Regions from separate parts of the Homo sapiens genome. Here all the other regions are linked to region 2. The links are contacts of gene promoters, found by promoter capture Hi-C in blood cells and fetal thymus (Javierre and others, 2016). All regions are on one chromosome and are shown on one strand. The core of a region is centred on a gene start or on the middle of the fragment in contact, and the rest is flanking DNA. Distances in the headings are between cores, read along the strand shown. Region 1 has its middle 2.8 kb from the start of C11orf86. Region 2 holds the start of LRFN4 (leucine rich repeat and fibronectin type III domain containing 4). Region 3 overlaps PC (pyruvate carboxylase).

What was found. Contacts are between HindIII fragments. The CHiCAGO score rates a contact against its expected background, and 5 or more counts as called.
Region 1: a contact is called between a fragment that was not itself captured here and the fragment with the promoter of LRFN4 in region 2, in 1 of 17 cell types (endothelial precursors). The highest score is 7.2, in endothelial precursors.
Region 3: a fragment that was not itself captured here is called in contact with the fragment with the promoter of LRFN4 in region 2 in 2 of 17 cell types (endothelial precursors and M2 macrophages); the score reaches 5.7 in endothelial precursors.

The regions. Positions count from the first base shown.
Region 1 is chr11:66,970,693-66,974,392 of GRCh38, reverse strand. No RefSeq gene overlaps it. Among named protein-coding and RNA genes, the nearest start is that of C11orf86, 2.8 kb to the left of the region's middle. The HindIII fragment of the contact is 1,017 bases long and covers 1,166-2,182 here.
Region 2 is chr11:66,855,814-66,859,336 of GRCh38, reverse strand. LRFN4 (leucine rich repeat and fibronectin type III domain containing 4) reads right to left here and starts at 2,273. Exons shown (of 2, transcript NM_024036.5): 1 at 244-2,273. The coding sequence starts at 1,592. All of the region lies in intron 12 of PC (pyruvate carboxylase), which reads left to right. RefSeq lists silencers at 2,388-2,497, 2,658-3,187. The HindIII fragment of the contact is 17,472 bases long and covers 1-3,523 here.
Region 3 is chr11:66,950,117-66,953,895 of GRCh38, reverse strand. PC (pyruvate carboxylase) reads left to right here. Exons shown (of 23, transcript NM_001040716.2): 3 at 1,428-1,466. Among named protein-coding and RNA genes, the nearest start is that of PC, 6.4 kb to the left of the region's middle. The HindIII fragment of the contact is 3,689 bases long and covers 1-3,262 here.

The DNA.
Region 1 (3,700 bases), core at 425-2,924, 120 kb before region 2:
GAGATTGGTTGCACAACAATGGTTGAAATGGTAAACTTTATGGTATATGTGTTATACAATACTGGAGAATTTCTTTTTTTTTTTTTTTTTTTTTAAGAAACAGAAGGAAACAGGACGGCTCCAGGCTAGGAGTCAGGAGGCCTGGATTTTTTCCAGGCCCAGCGCTGCCCCTAATGTCCCAGCAGCACAGCACTATCCTTGAGCACTCAAGCTCTGAGGACCAACTGCCTCTGGGTAAACTGTAGCTTCATTCCTTGCAGCCTTGTGACCTTGGGCACATTTTTCTCCTTCATTCGTAAGAGGGACAAATAACTTGGGTAATTGTTGTGCGTATTAAATGTGGTCCACAGGGCTTGGCACACAGCAAGCCCTCGAACAAAGTGAGTTGGTGGTTGTATTTGTCCGTTCTCCTGCTGCTATAAAGAAAGACCTGAGGCTGGGAGCAGTGGCTCATGCCTGTAATCCTAGCACTTTGGGAGGCTGAGGCGGGTAGATCACTTGAGGTCAGAAGTTCAAGACCAGCCTGGCCAATATGGTGAAACCCCTTCTCTACTAAAAATACAAAAATTAGGCCAGGTTGCAGTGGCTCACAACTGTAATCCCAGCACTTTGGGAGGCTGAGGCAGGTGGATCACAAGGTCAGGAGTTTGAGACCAGCCTGGCCAACATGGTGAAACCCCGTCTCTACTGAAAAAATACAAAGATTAGGCAGGCATGGTGGCGTGTGCCTGTAATCCCAGCTACTCGGGAGGCTGAGGCAGGAGAATTGCTTGAACCCAGGAGGCAGAGGTTGCAGTGAGCCGAGATCGTGCCACTGCACTCCAGCCTGGGCAACAGAGCAAGACTCCGTCTCAAAACAAAACAAAACAAAACAAAAAATTATCCAGGTGTAGTGGTGGGCAACTGTAATCCCAGCTACTCGGGAGGCTGAGGCAGGAGAATCGCTTGAACCCAGGAGGCGGAGGTTGTAGTGAGCTAAGATTGCGCCACTGCACCCCAGCCTGGGCAACAGAGAGAGAATCTGTCTCAAAAAATAATAATAATAAAAATAAGAAATACCTGAGACTGGGTAATTTATAAAGACAAAAAGTTTAATTGGCTCATGGTTCTGCAGGCTGTACAGGAAGCATAGCAGCTTCTGCTGCTGGGGAGGCCTCAGGAAGCTTCCAACCGTGGTGGAAGGCAAAGCGGGGATGAGGCATCTTACATGATAGGAGCAGGAGAAAGAGAGAGCGTGGCGGGAGGTGCTGTACACTTTTTTTTGAGACAGAGTCTCAGTCTGTCGCCCAGGCTGGAGTGCAGTGGCGCGATCTTGGTTCACTGCAACCTCCGCCTCCCGGGTTCAAGTGATTCTCGTGCCTCAGCCTCCTGAGTAGCTGGGACTATAGGTGCCTGCCACCACGCCCAGTTAATTTTTTGTATTTTTGGTGGAGACAGGATCTTGCTATATTTCCCAGTCTGGCCTTGAACTCCTGGGCTCAAGTGATCTGCCCACCTCAGTCTCCCAAAGTGTTTGGAATAAAGGCGTGAGCCACTGTGCTCAGCCTACACACTTTGAAACAACCAGATCTCACAAGAACTCACTATCATGAAAACAGCACCAAGGGGATGGGGCTAAACCATTCACGAGAATCCACCCCCATGAGCCAACCACCTCTAACGCTAGGGACTACAATTCAACATGAAGTTTGGTGCGGACACAAATCCAAACCATATCAGTGGTATTCACTGCCGTGGGCAGATCCTTTCAGTCTCATCTGTAAAATGGGTTGTTTCTTTTTAAATTTTTTTTTGAGATGGAGTCTCTCTCTGGCGCCCAGACTGGAGTGCAGTGGCGCGATCTTGGCTCACTGCAACCTCTGCCTCCCGGGTTCAAGCGATTCTCCTGCCTCAGCCTCCCGAGTAGCTGGGATTACAGGCACATGCCACCATGCCTGGCTAATTTTTGTATTTTTAGTAGAGATGGGGTTTCACATTGGCCTGGCTGGTCTCAAACTCCTGGCCTCATGATCCACCTACCTCGGTCTCCCAAAGTGCCAGGATCACAAGCATGAGCCACCGCACCCAGCCTGTAAAATGGGTTGTTTCAAAAATAAGATGAAATCATGAGTGTGGATGCTTCTAAAGGTGAGACTACTGGCAGCAACTCTTTCCCCCAAGACAGGAGGAAGAGAAAGAAGCTTGGGGCTGGGCCAGCAGATTCCTCAGAATGGTTGTTTTGTTTTTTGAAACAGGGTCTCACTCTGTTGCTCAGGCTGTAGGGCAGTGGCACAATTTCAGCTCAATGCAACCTTGACCACCTGGGCTCAAGTGATCCTCCCACCTCAGCCTCCTGAGTAGCTGGGACTACGGGTATGTGCCACCACGCCTGGCTAATTTTTGTATTTTTTGTAGAGATGGAGTTTCATCATGTTACTCAGGCTGGTTTTGAACTCCTGAGCTCAAGCAATCTGCCCACCTCAGCCTCCCAAAGTGTGCCACCACGCCTGGCCTCAGAATGGTAGAATTTGAGTGCTGAAGGGACCTCATACATCTGTTCCATGCTCCTTTTTGTTTTATTTTTATTATGTATTTCTTTGTTTATTTTAGAGAGAAGGTTTCTCTATGTTTCCCAGGCTGGTCACAAACTCCTGGTCTCAAGTGATCCTCCTGTCACAGCCTCCTGACTAGCTGGGATTACAGGCATGAGCCATCACACCCAGCTCCTTTTTGTTTTAACCACTGTTTTGAGTCAACCCCTTCACAGATTTCATTTAAACCTCATGATAGTCCTATGATGTGGGGATTGTCATCTCATTTTATAGATCAGAAAACTGAGGATCAGGGAGATTAAGCACCTGGCTGGAGAGCATGCCCACTAAGTGGCAGAGCTGGTCGGCCACCCTGGTCAGCCGGGCTTTAAAAACCCATGCTTCAGTCACTCAGGTCTCCTTCCCCAGACTCGGCAGCAGAGGCAGGACTGGAAGCCAGCTGTCCTGCCTCCTCCATGTTTGGGGTACTGCAGAGGGCACCCCTATTCAGGGCCAGGGAAGTGCTGGCTGCAGCTCTTGGCTCACACTAGCCTTGTCCCCTAGGGCCTGGCCTTGCCCTCATCCTTTCTGCTCCGTTTCTGAATCTTCCCTGGGTGAAGGGTTGCTTAAAATCTGCCAGGCTCAGCTCCCAGAGGACCTATGACAGGGCCAGTGTGAAGAGAATGTAAAAAAGGAGCCCTGACCTTCTGCCCCAGCCTGTCCCAAACACTGGCTCTGATTTGTACCCAGACCTTTTAATTTCAACCCTGACAACACACCAAAGGTCAATCCTGACCCTGGTTAAAAAGCAACAAAACCATTACACAATCTTCAACGCCCTCACTTCAACACACGTAGTCAACTCAAATCCCCACTCTCACAAAGGTCTGAGCCCAGGAAGAACTGGCTGACTCACAGACTTTTGAGATGTGGTGGGATGAATCACTCACTCTTGCGTCAAGCACATAGCTGCGGAGTACCCTCTTGCCAAGGATGCAGTCTTAAAACAACTTCCCAAATCCACTGAGGAGAGGGAGAAAATCTGTGTTCTCCTCCTTCCCTCCTCACTGCTTCTCTGCCTTCTTCACCTGGTATCTTAGGCTGATTAGTGTTGCTGTAACAGAGACAGGTTAATTTCTAAACAACTGTTCATTTGATTCATGGTTCTGGAGGCTGGGAAGTCCAAAAGA
Region 2 (3,523 bases), core at 1,024-3,523:
CCTGCACAGCTCAGTGACACCTGGGACATCTCGGGGTGGGGTCCTTCTGCCGCCCCTTGAGCTCCAGCCCCCTCAGGCAGCCAGGCCAGGCCAGGCCACTGCTCCTCCAAGAGTCCAGCAGCCATGGTCGGGGAGGGGGTGTCAGCCCCAGAGAGAGGAGGGGTGGAAGCAAAGCCTTGTGGGGAGCAGAGGGCGGAGGAAGGGCGCCGGGAGTGCAGCCGGGTGTGGGGCACGCATCCTCACCGGTAGATGAGGGTCTCATCTTCGCTGCTGTTGTACTGGATTTGGAACATCCACACTGGGTCGGCTGGCCGCCCGGGACCCCAGCTCACCAGCCCTGAGGTGGCGGTCACCTCCGTCACCTGCACGGCTGGCTCAGACTCCAGCGTCCCCTCACCCTCGGCAGCAGTGCGAGCGGAGGCGGCGATGTCCGAGGGCCCGGGGCGGCCCCCCTCGGCACTGCTGTTCCCACCATGGGGCAAGGCCAGCACCCGCAGTTCTACTCGGGCTGTGGCCTCACCAGCAGGGTTGGTGGCGATGCAGGTGTAGCCCCCAGCGTCCCCAGCGCCGGTCACCCCAATCTCTAAGGTCCCGTTGGGGAAAGCCCGGGCTCGGGAGGAGTTGCCAACCAACCGGTCGTCAGGACCGACCCAGTGCATGGTAGGCGCGGGGTCACCCAGGGCCCGGCACCGCAGCGTGGCCCGCTGGCCTTCCAGCACCCAGAGGCGCTGCGTGTGGCGGGCAATGAGGGGCGGCTCACAGGAGAACTCGCCCTCGGGCACTGCCCAGAAGTAGCGGCCGGCCAGGCCGGGCGGGGAGGCGCACGTTTCCAGGTCGTCCGGCCGCGCCAGCCGCCGCAGCCACAGCAGCTCACAGTTGCAGTGCAGGGGGTTCCCGCTAAAGCTCAGCACCAGGGGGGCGGGAGAGGCCTCTGCATCACGCCCACGAGAGAAAAGCGGGTCCGGAGCCAGCGTGGCCAGGCGGTTGGAGGTGAGGTCCAGGCGGGAGAGCTGACCGAGCTGGGCGAAGGCGCCTGGGGGCAGTGCGTCAATAAGGTTATGGTCCAGGTTGAGGGTGTGCAGGGCAGGCATGGCGCCGATGCCGGCCCAGGGCACCTGCCGGAGGTTGTTGTAGGACAGGTCCAGGTCCTCCAGGCTCTCTAGGAAGTCGTCGAAGGCTCCCGGCGCGATGCGGCCCAGCTGGTTGCCGCTGAGGATGAGGTGCTGCAGATTGACGGGGCCCCGGAGGCTCCCGGTGCCCAGCTCCACCAGCCTGTTGCCGTCAAGGTGGAGGGAACGCAGGCTCTCGAGGTCCCCAAAGGCGCGGGCCCCAATGCGGGTGATGGCATTGCGAGACAGTGTCAGGTCCACCAGTCCCGTCATGTTGCGGAAGTCAGGGGGCCCCAGGGCCTGGATGAAGTTGTCAGCCAGCCGCAGCTCCACTGTGCGCCGGTCCACGTTGGGCGGCACAAACAGCAGGCCTCGGTGGGCACAGAGGGTGCTGAGCGACTCGGACAGGTTCTGGCAGACGCAGGGCAGCGGGCAGGCGGCCGCTCCACTGGCCAGCAGCAGCAGCAGGAGCGGCGGGGCCATGGTGAGCGCCCTGTAGGAAGGGGCCACAGCCCAGGCACAGGTGGGGCTGGCGCAGGTGCCCACTTGGGCCCAGGACAGTCCCAGAAGCCAGCTTCTGTGAGCCTGGCCCGGGGAGGGGCTGGGTCAGAGGCCCAAGAGGGCCGCCAGAGATGAGGGAAGGTTGGGGCCTGCAGGGCCAGGCCCCCCAGAGCAAAGGTCACATTTCCCAAGCAGTTAAGGGGGAGTCCAGGCGCTGGGGACAAGGTGAGGCATGAGGCAGGAAGCGGAGGAGGACCGAGAGCAGGGAGGGTCCCGGAACTTCCTTTCCCAGGCGTCCCCAGGAATCGCCAGCCGCCTCCCCACTCCCCGCCATACCCTCCCCCGCCAGAGAAGGCGCCCCCCGAACCTCCCGTGGAGTCCGTGGCCCCTCCCTGGCCGGCCCCCGCGCTGCGCCCGGCGGCCCCCTCACCTGGTGTCCGTCGCTCAGGGGGCGCGGGCCGGCCTCCCTGCGAGCCCGGCCGGCCCCCGCCGACTCCTGGCCGCTCTCCCGCGGGGACGAGGCCCGGGGATGACCGGCCGCCCGCCGCCCACCCTCGGGCCCATGGCGCTCGGGCCCGCGGCCCCGGCTCGCTCGGTTCCCGGCACCTTTTCCCGGCGCGGTTAGCGGTGGCGGCGGCGACAGGCGAGCGGGTGCGCGCCGGCGGGCGCGCGCGCCGCGGACACGCACGTGGAGGGCGGACGGGGAGGGGCGCGCGGGGATCCACCCGGGCCCGGGCCGGCTCCTGAGGTCACGGGGACACGCGGCCGCTGCAGCGCCCACGGGTGGCGCCCAGTCACGCCCGAGGCCCGGGCCGGCGCGGGCCCTCCGCGCTGTCCCCCGGCGCTGCCGCAGCGCACTCACCCTGGCACAGGCGCGCGCGCCCCCGGCCATCCTGGCGCCCCGGCATCCTGCACCGCACGGGCGCCCGCCGCCGCGGCGCGAACCTCACTCTGCAGACAGCCAGACAAAGCGCCTGCTCGCGGGCCCCTTCACCATCTCCCGGAGACGGGCGTCTTTGTCACATGTCGCTGGGCACCCTCCCCAACACACCCACACATGCCCACACACCCACACGTCCCTGCACCCACGGGCAGGGCCGAGCGCAAACCCGCACTGTTGCTGGGACCCTTGCGTTCACAGACACACGCTGAAGGTCATAACCGTTCTGCATCACCGAGTCACGTGGAGGGTCCCCAACCGGCACGGGGTTCGGCCGTGGGGGGGGCTGGGGCGGCGCCCCTGGCAGGGCTGCTGCGGGGTGGGGCCGAGAGGGCTTGGCCTCCGGGCAGGCGCCCCGCCCCCGCCGCCCCGCCCTGTCCCCAGCTGCCTCTCGCCTCTCCCTCCCTCCCCAGCTGCCCCGCCCGCCCCGCGGGCCAGGCGTTCCGGAGCCAACCGGCCTCCGCCTCGGGCCGGATTGGTCTGCGCGGCGCGGCTTCCCAACCGCCGGGGGCACGCATTGGGAAGCTGTGCGTCCTCGCAGCGCCTGCGGCCCCTCCCTCCCGCTCTGTCGCCGCCGGGCCATTTCCCTGGAAGAGCGGCTCGGAACCAGCTCCTCTCAGAGAAAGGGCTCCCGGCGTGAGGTGGGGGAGGTTCTTTGCTTCCTGGTTGAGAAAGCTGGGGCTTCGGTGGCTCGGCGAGCCTGGTTTCCTTCCAGCTGTGCCCGCCACCACCAGTGGTCTGCCCAGTTGGGAAACAGGAAGTCACCACCTCCCCGTGTCTCCTGGTCCTTAAGCCACCTAAACCTCAGCCATCCTCGTTCTCCCTCCAGCCCTGATCCCCATGGGCCAGGTGGCAGGAAACTCGGGGAAACCCAAGATTGGAATTCTGATCCTGTCAGCACAGCAGTGTAGTCCTGGGCACGTTACCTGACCACTGAAAACAAGTTCCTCCTGTAGGCCAGGAGAGTTGGATG
Region 3 (3,779 bases), core at 169-2,668, 95 kb before region 2:
CCATCTCTTACAAATGACGGACTCTCATAGGTGAAACTCAGAGAGGTGAAATAACGCCCAGAGTAACACAGCCAGGCAGGCTAGGTGGCTCACTGCTGGAGTCCCTCTCACGTGCCATCCCATTTTTGCTTCTTTTAACCAGCCCCTAACAACTTGCTTTTTGGCACTTTGTGGGCAGGGCCTGAGTGTACATACAGTTCCTTGTGCAAGGCATGTGCTCAATAAATATTTTATTGACTTGAGTGCCCCAGACATTGAATTTCAGCCTTGACGTTATCTGTCAAGGCAGCTGGTTTTCTCTGAACAGGGATTTGAGCTTGCTGGCCTGTTTTTCCATTTTGCTGTTCATTGACTAGTGGCTAGGGTAGGTGTGGCTTTTTCGGAAATAAGCAGTCAATAAAACTCCGAAAAGTGATTACACAATACCAACTGTGGGCTCCCATGGGCATAAACACGAGGTGGGCTCTTACTTATGGCAGAGAGGGGTCTCTGCAGGAAAGGATTTGAGGAAATAGCCAGGAAATAGAGTACACATCTCAGGTCACGTAAGACAGCTCCTTATTAGTTTCAAGTTGTGGAGTGAGAGAAGAACCAGACTCCCAGTATTCAGAGGGAGCTCCTGAAGGATTAGAGACAGCTCTGCGGAGATGCAGAGAAAGCGGGCCTGAGGCTGGACGGAGTGGGCAGGAAGAGAAAGCACTTCAGATAAAACGAACTGTTTCTAGAACTTCTTGTTCATGTGTAGTGGGTGGCAGAAAAGGGTTTTACTTAAGCGCTTCCCACCTAGCCTGTCGGTTAACGTCCCAGTGTGTCCTCTGTGCCAGGCATGGTGCCACTGCTGTGCGTGTGCTGCCTCATTGGGTATTCCCTAGTACGCTGTGAGATGGGCATTGTTATTATTCCCATTTTACAGATGAGGAAACAGACTTTGAGTGATTACAGAGCGGCTGTCAGAGTAACAAGAGGTGCAGTCCAGGCAGTGGGACAGCACAGCTGGCGCTTCCAGCTCTGTACCCTCCTGGTGCCCTCAGTGGAAGCAAAGAAACAGTTCTTGGCCGGGTGCGGTGGCTCACACCTGTAATCCCAGCACTTTGGGAGGCCGAGGTGGGTGGATCACCTGAGGTCGGGAGTTCGAGACCAGCCTGACCAACATGGAGAAACCCCCATCTCTACTAAAAATACCAAATTAGCTGGGCGTGGTGGCACATGCCTGTAATCCCAACTACCTCAGGAGGCTGAGGCAGGAGAATCGCTTGAATCCGGGAAGCAGAGGTTGCAGTGAGCCGGGATTGCGCCATTGCACTCCAGCCCGGGTAACAAGACTGAAAAAGTTCTCTGGGTTCTAAAATCGGTGTTCTTGCCACTCCTGTTTTCTCTGGGAAGTTCCTGGAGCAATGAGGGTAATGCTGTTTTTTCTTTTGCTTTAGATAGTGTCTGCCTTCTGGAGAGCTGACCAAACACTAAGGGTAAGTCCTGTGCCTGAATCCAGGCTGGCGGGATGCATGGGGGTCTTCACCAGGAGCAGCTGTGGATGCCAGCAGTTTGGCATGTCAGGTCTTAAGCTCAATCAATAAAAAAAGGCTGCGCTCTGATTTGTGGATAATATCCGTTTAAGCAGTCTTGTCTGTTTCCAGTTGCTCCTGATTTTTACAGGAAAGTGACATCTGGCTCCCTGCTGGCCCCATTTGGCAGCTGGCCAGCCTCAGCAGAAGGCCCTGGTTCTGGAAGGGTATGGTCAGCTTGGGAAGCTGGGCAGGAAGAATCCCTGGGGCTGGGCCGTCTCTGAGAAGACCCCTTGAGTCAGCATGGAGAGCAGGCAGCTGTGGTGTGAGGTGGTTCTGCCAGCTGGTTGTAAAGTCACTTGACACGGGTTTCCAGAGGGTGACGCTCAACCTTTGCCAGTCACGGTAACAACGGGGAAAAAGGGACCTGCCCTTCTTCCCCTGCACATTTTACAGGCATGTGCCACCACACCTGGCTAAGTTTTTTTTTTTCTTTTTTTTTTTTGAGACGGAGTCTTGCTCTGTTGCCAGGCTGGAGTGCAGTGGCGCAAGCTCGGCTTACTGCAACCTCTGCCTCCTGGGTTCAAGCAATTCTCCTGCCTCAGCCTCCCGAGTAGCTGGGACTACAGGTGTGTGCTGCCATGCCCAGCTAATTTTTGTATTTTTAGTAGAGACGGGGTTTTACCATGTTGGCCAGGATGGTCTCAATCTCTTGATCTTGTGATCCACCCACCTCAGCCCCTCAAAGTGCTGGGATTACAGGCATGAACCACTGTGCCCGGCCTAATTTTTGTATTTTTAGTAGAGATGGGATTTTACCATGTTGGTCAGGCTGGTCTCGAACTCCTGACCTCAGGTGATCCGCCCTCTTCGGCCTCCCCAGATGCTGGGATTACAGGTGTGAGCCAGCGCGTCCGGCCTCTACTGCTTTTACAGTTCCCCCAACATGGATTTCCATGGTGGCAGGTGCCTGGGAGATTCAGTGGCCTCCCCTCAGCCTAAATTCCACAGCCCTCCCGCCGGTCCCCTGCTAGTCCAGTCCCCTCTCCCCCTGCTGGTCTGCAGGAGCAGCCGAGCCAGGGAACCAGGTGCTCTCCCAGCATTTGTGACAACAATAATGCTCTTCCCTTCAGGCCCGCTGTGGCCTTGGGGACTTTGTGGCTCAGGGACAACTTTCTCCAGAGCTCATATCCAGTGCTGAGTGGGGATTCCTTGGTATAGGAGTTTTTCTCGGTTTTCCACCCATTATGTGGGGGTTTTCCTCTGACGACCCTTCATGACGCAGGAGCTGGTTTCCTGTGTGAGATTTCCCGCAGTCCTCCCTTGGAGCTAGGTCTTGGGCCAGCAGGTGCCGTCTGCGTGCTACCATTGAGTAAGGGCAATGGGCTCATGGTGGGAATGGCCGTAACGTGGAAGAACTCCACCCTCCACGAGTTTCACCCCCTTGTTCTCTCTCTGCTTGCTCTGTCCTCTTATTCTTGGCTGCTAGAGTTGGATGTTATTTCTCTTACTTGCATCCCTACAATGAGAGGTGGGCATGTTGGGGAAGGTTCCCCCCAAACCACTTGTCTTATGGAACTGAAGAAACTGAAGCCTAGAGAAGGCTGCTTAGCAGAATCCAAGATGCTGATCCCATTGTTTATTCTTCTTTTAAAATTGCCATATTTTATTGATGTCTTCCCTTAGATCCATCAATAGAGAGGGAAAATCAGTCACCAAGAAGGGACCTCTTCTTCCAGGTTATGTAATTTGTCAAAGCTTGTTTGGCTCCTCAGTTCCCAAGGCACTGCTGACTTGAGCTTTGCCTAGGGACTAAGGCTCTGTAGTCTAAGCTTGTCACCCTCCCCTCCTCTTCAGCTTTCTCCTGGGGGGACATGGATGTGGCCCTTTGTTGTGTTGTTAAGTGTTATGCCTGAAGGCGTTACCCCAGGTACTCCCAGCACTACCTCGGGTTTCCTACTCTTGTGTTACCTCCTTGTCCTGATATGCCTCGAGGCCAGAGAAAGAGGTGGGGCCGGGAGGGCACGGGACAGCTGGGAGTACATTTCCACTGCCTGTGTGTGGAAGGGCCTGACTGCTTCTGTGGCAGCTCCTTTCCTGATGACATCCACCATGACATCACAACGAGGCTTTGGGAAAATTCCACGACCTGGCCATGCTGAGTCATACTTAGTCTCTGGGGATGTGTGTCACCTTTCTCTTGTCTGTCACTGAGTGCTGCAGTTACTATGAAGTGACACATGCTGCCCATTTATTACGTTTGCACATCACTTTATG